Regions from separate parts of the Homo sapiens genome. Here region 1 is linked to region 2. Evidence: promoter capture Hi-C in human tissues and cell types (Jung and others, 2019). All regions are on one chromosome and are shown on one strand. Each heading gives the region's core, a stretch centred on a gene start or on the middle of the fragment in contact. The rest is flanking DNA. Distances are from core to core; before and after follow the strand shown. Region 1 holds the start of LOC124906159 (small nucleolar RNA U13). Region 2 holds the start of WNT6 (Wnt family member 6).

Region 1 (2,731 bases), core at 148-2,647, 670 kb after region 2:
CATAGGGTAGAGGAATTTTCACGTGGGTTACTTCCTTGTGCTCCTCCAGTTATTTGGTTTGATTTGAAGATAATGCTGCCCTCTCCTGGACTGGTCTTGCAACTCCAGGCCCTGGCCTCCAAGAGTAGATTCTGCACCTGCCCCCGCCTCCCCCCACCAAGCAACCTTGCGTGATCTCAGGTGTTATCAGAACAGTTAGTGGTCTCCTGCTCTGCTAAGTCATTTCTTACAGCCGTGGTGGGCTTAACTTTCCCTCCAGTGTTATTTCCCAGAGACTGGAGGCAAGAGAAACATAGGGCAAGTCACTGGTGGGTCCTCAATTTCTAGAAATAGAATCCTTCTTTTCTTCTTTTGCTTTGCTTTCAACAACTGTTTATTGTACCCTCTACTTGCCAAGGAGATGTGTAATGTCTCCTAGGCACATGGGATACAGTGGTCAAAATGGATACGGATCCCTGCCTTCGTGAAGCTTATATGCACCAGAGGAGGCAGACAATAAACAATAGCCTCTATAATAAACAAGCAAATGGTATAGGATGTTAGGAAGGGATGACTGCAGCAAGGAAAGAAGCATGTGTTAAATTGATGAGGGCAAGGGATATCAGGAAGTCTTGGGGAGGTGCAGATGCAGATGGGGGACAGTGTGGGCCTCAGCAAGAAGGTGGGTTGGAGAAAACACTTAGAAGAGGTGAGGGAATTACCTGCAGGAGCAGCTAAGGAAGAGCTTTCTGAGGGGGTGAATGGCCAGAGTCAATGCCCTAAGGCAAGAGCTGTACAAGGCCAGTATGTCTGGAGCTGAGCTACAAGGGGTGAAGTGGAAGTGGTTAGAGGGTGTTATGGGTTGAATAGTGTCCTCTCCCCGCAAATTCATATTTTGAAGTTCTAAACTCCAGTACATCAGAAGGTGGCCTTATCTGGAATTGGGGTCATTGCAGATGTTATTAGTTAAGATAATGTCATTAGAGGGGGGACACTAATCCAATATGACTGCTGTCCATATAAAAAGGGACACAGAGAAATGCACAGAGGAAGAATGCACCGTGAAGTGGAAGGCAGAGATTGGGGTGATGCCTCTACTGGTCAAGGAACACCAAAGATTGCCAGCAAGCACCAAAGCTGGGAAGAGGCACAGAACAGACTAGATTCTCCCTTATAGCCTTTGGAAGGAACTAACCCTGCTACATTTTGGTCTCGAACTTCTGGTCTCCAAAACTATGAGATAAGAAATTTCCGTTTGTTCAAGCTGCACAGTTTGTGGTACTGTGTTATGGCAGCCCTAGCAAACAAATCCAGAGGGGTAATGAGGTGGGATGGGGGGAGAGGGTGAGGGCAGGGAGATAGAGTAAAGCCTTGAAGGCCTTTAAGGACTTTAGGTTTTATCAGATTCACTTTTTCTCATGATAAAGTGGGATTTATTCCAAAAATTCAAGCATTATTCAACACCGGAAAACCATCAATATCATTCCCATACTAGATACTTTTGTAGCTCATAAGCATGATGATTCAGTGTCCAAGTGCATGCATGAGATGTGCCTCCCTCAAACCTTGTCACAACATCAGCACGTTGCTCATCTGACATGAACAAAATATACATAATTCACATATGAATGTATCTCAGAATAAAAAAAGTCATATAACTATCTTCATAAGCCTTTGACAAAATTCAAAGCCATTTTTTTTTAATAGATGAGGGGCTCTCCATGTTGTCCGGGCTGGTGTTGAACTCCTGGGCTCAAGGGATCCTGCCACCTCGGCCTCCCAAAGCACTAGGATTACAGGCATGAACCACCAAGCCTGGCTCAAAACCTATTCTTGATTTAAAGAATAAACTTAATAAAATAAAATACAGATGGTTTCCAACTTATGATGATTTGACTTAAAAATTTCCACTCTATGTTGGATTTATCAGGACATAATACCATGGCAAGTCAAGGAGCATTTGTAGGTGCTTTAAAAGCAAGTATTAACTAAACTCCAGATTTTATTTGGATTTGGCCTGTTTTTCCATTATCCCCTCTTTCTATTCCAGGATCCAATCCAAGACACTACATTTCATTTAGTTGTTAGCTCTCCCCAATCTCCTGTGGTCTGTGACAGTTTTGCTCAGTTTTTTTCTTGTTTTTTATGACTTTGACAGTCTTCAGAAATACTGGCCGGGTGTCCTGTAGAATGTCCCTCAATCTGCCTGATGTTTTTCTCATGATGCCTCTGAGGTTATGGGTTTTGGAGGGCATACCCCAGAGATAAGGTGCCTTCTCATCACATTGTATCAGTTGTACCTGAGGTCTATATATCCTCCCTGGTGATATGAGCCTTCCTCACTTGGGTAAGGTAGTGTTTGCCAGGTTTTTCTGCCATAAACTTAATTAAAATGCACTTAAAATGTTTAAAGCAATAGAATTTGTACTTTGGAGACATTGTGATAGGGACAGGAGGCAGGGAAATTCTGGGCAGAAGAGGGTGGGTCCTTGGCGAGGGCCCCACCCTCAAGCCGAAAAGCCTGGTACCACGGCCTAAAGTGAGAACATACATCTCTGTTTTCCTGCATGAATGTTGCCTTTTCCCAAATCACCCATGGCCTGCCCCACCCCCCATCCTGTGCCCATGGAAACTCCAGGCTCAGCTGGCAGAGAGAGGAGAAGCAGCTGGATGTCAGAGACTATGGCTGGACGTCAGAGAGAAGTGTCTTGACTTCAGAGGGAGAGTTTGATGGTATAGCTTTGGGGGAGGA
Region 2 (2,934 bases), core at 49-2,548:
ATCACATGGCAATATGCAAATAGACACGACCCTGCCTTCTTAGGATTGGCTAACCCGTCAGCGTTATTGTCCAAGTCTCTCCTCTCTAAACACTGAGCTATTCCGGGCGAGGGTTTGCGGCTCTGGAGACCTAGGGGGAAAAAAGTCCTTTGGATCTGGATCTCTGAGCCGTCCCGGTCGGGCACCCTCCTTCCCCGCCCCGGCCCCACCCCCACCCCCAAGGCTCGAAGCTCCCGCAACCTTCGCTGCCTAGGTGTCCCTTCTAGCTAGGGCCAAGCCTGGGAAGACGCCCCCTTCCCTTGGCTGGCCAGGCCCCTCTCCCTTCCCGCAGGACCCCTCCCGGTCCCGTATCTCCCGGGCTGCACATATTTTTTCATTCATGACCCCCAGGTCTGGAAGGGCCGGGCGCCTGGGTCCGGTTCCTTCCGCTCCTCCTTTTCCTTGCTTGGGGAGGACGAGGTAGAGAAAACCAGGGTCCTGACTCACTTTCCCCTTTATATTCCCTCTGTCGTCACTAAGGCCCACTCCTCAGGAGCCCAGAGAGAAGCCGGTGGGTTGGTAGGCAAAGCAGGGCGGGGAAGGGGCAGCTGTGTGGCCCTCTCTGCCTTGTGGCTTCCCACCTTGTTCCTGTCTTCTCCAAATCCAGCCCCATACCCTGAATCCAGGGCCCTCCTCACACATTCTTTTCCTCGGATATGTGTCTTCCCGAAAGATCTTTCCTACCCACTCGCCTGTTCCTTGGTGAGCTGGGTGAGCGCATAACTTGGCGGGGGGTGGGAGAGAACCCGGGAGGAGGAAACACAATAGAATGTTCCCGAGGGTTAGGAACGTCGAAGTGGAGTTCAGAAACGCCCCCGGCCGAGGCCAGAAAGCTGGGCTCGGAGAGCAGGTAGAGCCGGGAGGCTGCGGAACACCCCAGTCTGTCCTGGGTCCCGGGGTCCCCACCCTCCAGGGTCCAGAGCCGCGCCAGGACAGCCGGACTCACCACCACAGTCCGCCGACGTGCGCCGGGCACAGGAGCAGCAGCAGCAGCAGCCCGAGGCGGGAGGGTAAGGGCGGCAGCATCGTGACCGCCCTACGGCCGCCCGGGTGGGCAGGGGGCGAGGCTGCGGGGCGAACCGCGGCGCGCGAGGGCCCGGGCTTCAGTGCGAGCGCGGCGAGCGCAACGGCGGCGGCCGGGAGGCGAGGGATCCGGCGGCGGCGGGGGGGCCCATCCCGGGCGAGGAGGGCGCGGCGGAGGCGGAGAGCGGACGGGGCAGCCAGCGCCTGTGTCTCCTGCGGAGCTCGCTCGGGAGAAGAAATCAGAGCCGGGGGCGGAGGTGGGAGGGGAGCGGGGCCGAGGCGGGGGCGGGGGGCAGGGGGCCGGAGGGAGGTGGCAGTTGCGACAGTCAGGCAGCGGGACTCTCGGGAGCGAGCCGTGCGCCCCGGGGCGGCTGGCGCGGAGCGCAGCGGAGGGCGGGAGCGGGGTGCCGGGGCGGGGCCCCAGCGCGCTTCGGGCTGTGGGACCCGCCCGCTTCGCCCCCTCGCCTCGCCTCTCTCGGACTTGGAGCCCCCCGCCGCTCGCGGCCGCCTGGAGTCGGGGGCAAGGAAGGGCTGGGAAGAAGAGTAGAGAGGGGTGAGGGGGGAGAAAGAGGAGCTGAGGAATGGGGGACGGGCTGGAAGGGAGACGTTTGACAGGTTTGTTGACTGTAAAGAGAGAAAACTTCCCAGGAATGAGGGAGTTTGGGGCGGGGGGCGGTGCGGAGGGAGATGCTGGCGCGGAGGCAAGAGAGGAAGTTGGCCTGGGGCGCGGGGTGCTTCGGCGAGGGTTGTCAAACTGGACCGCCCGACAGGCGGATGCTGGAGGGGTCATCTCTTTCCGTGTCCCTGTTCGATGCCTCATGCCCCTTCGTCAGCCTCTCCTTGAAGAAGGGAGGAAGCCCTGGGCCTCCGCTCTCGCTCCCCCAGCCATCCCACCTCTCAAGCCCGCGTTCTAGGGCGGGGAGGTGGGGGAAATGAGAGGGCAAGAGTAGCCGCTCCAGGGCGTGCGCGCAAGCGCTGGCACTTGTAAGCGAGCGGGAGAATGGAGGTCGCAGACTTTCAAGAGATCGAGGGGTCAGAATTCGCTTTAGCCCGGCCTCGCGTGTCCAAGAGTCCCTGCCTCGAGTTCCTCCCCCAACCTGGCCCGGGTAGAAGGGGTGGGAGAGCCAGCTGCAGGTGAGATGGCGTTTATCAGATTTTCTAATGCCACAAAAATGTCTTTGATGCCCCTGGCCCCCTCCCCACGAGGGGGAGATCAAAGGCTCCGTGGGGAAGAGGGACAGCTCCATTCATCATGCCATTCGGCTGGCAGTGGGCAGCAGCCCCTGCCCCTCCCGTCCCCGACGTGCCCCGGGGTGCCAAGGGACAGGTGGTGTGGGACATTCTCCCTGCCATACCATCAAGAGCAACCATCAACCTTTAAAGCTGTCCTGGAGTGGGGAGGACAGATCGAGTCCCTATGGCAGAAACGTCAGGCGCCCAGAAGAAAGCTCCTGGTTGTTGGTAGAGAGGGGGACCTGAATGTGGGGACTGAGGTCGCTTCCAAGAGAGTGATGACTGAGGTCACTTCCAAACAACCTTGGTGAGCAGAGAGAGAAGACAAGATCCTGAGTCACCCAGAGAGGGGGGACAAGTAGATCAAGATGAGGCCAAGGGGCCAAGGGATGTGACCCCAGGGGAGGAGGCTGATGGGGGAAGGAATGAGCAGACAGAGGTGAGAGAACTGGAGAAGTGTGGACTTGCCGGCAAGCAAGCTCCATGTCAGGGCCCTGGTGTCCAGGCTGCATCAGCTCAATCCCTTGCACTGGATACAGAGAGTTCTGGTGAAAGGGCTAGGACACACTAAAGAAGGGGAAGGGGGCAGGGGGCAGTGGCAAGAGTCATAGAGAGAGGGTCTGGTCTAAGCACTGCCCT

The links. Contacts are between HindIII fragments. The study calls those that stand out against the background at their distance.
Region 1: a fragment that was not itself captured here is called in contact with the fragment with the promoter of WNT6 in region 2 in 2 of the 25 tissues and cell types used here (liver and lymphoblastoid cells).

The regions. Positions count from the first base shown.
Region 1 is chr2:218,183,826-218,186,556 of GRCh38, reverse strand. It overlaps LOC124906159 (small nucleolar RNA U13), which reads left to right and starts at 1,475; the gene lies at 1,475-1,578. The HindIII fragment of the contact is 7,861 bases long and covers 1-2,731 here.
Region 2 is chr2:218,858,169-218,861,102 of GRCh38, reverse strand. WNT6 (Wnt family member 6) reads right to left here and starts at 1,298. Exons shown (of 4, transcript NM_006522.4): 1 at 986-1,298. The coding sequence starts at 1,065. The HindIII fragment of the contact is 31,874 bases long and covers 1-2,934 here.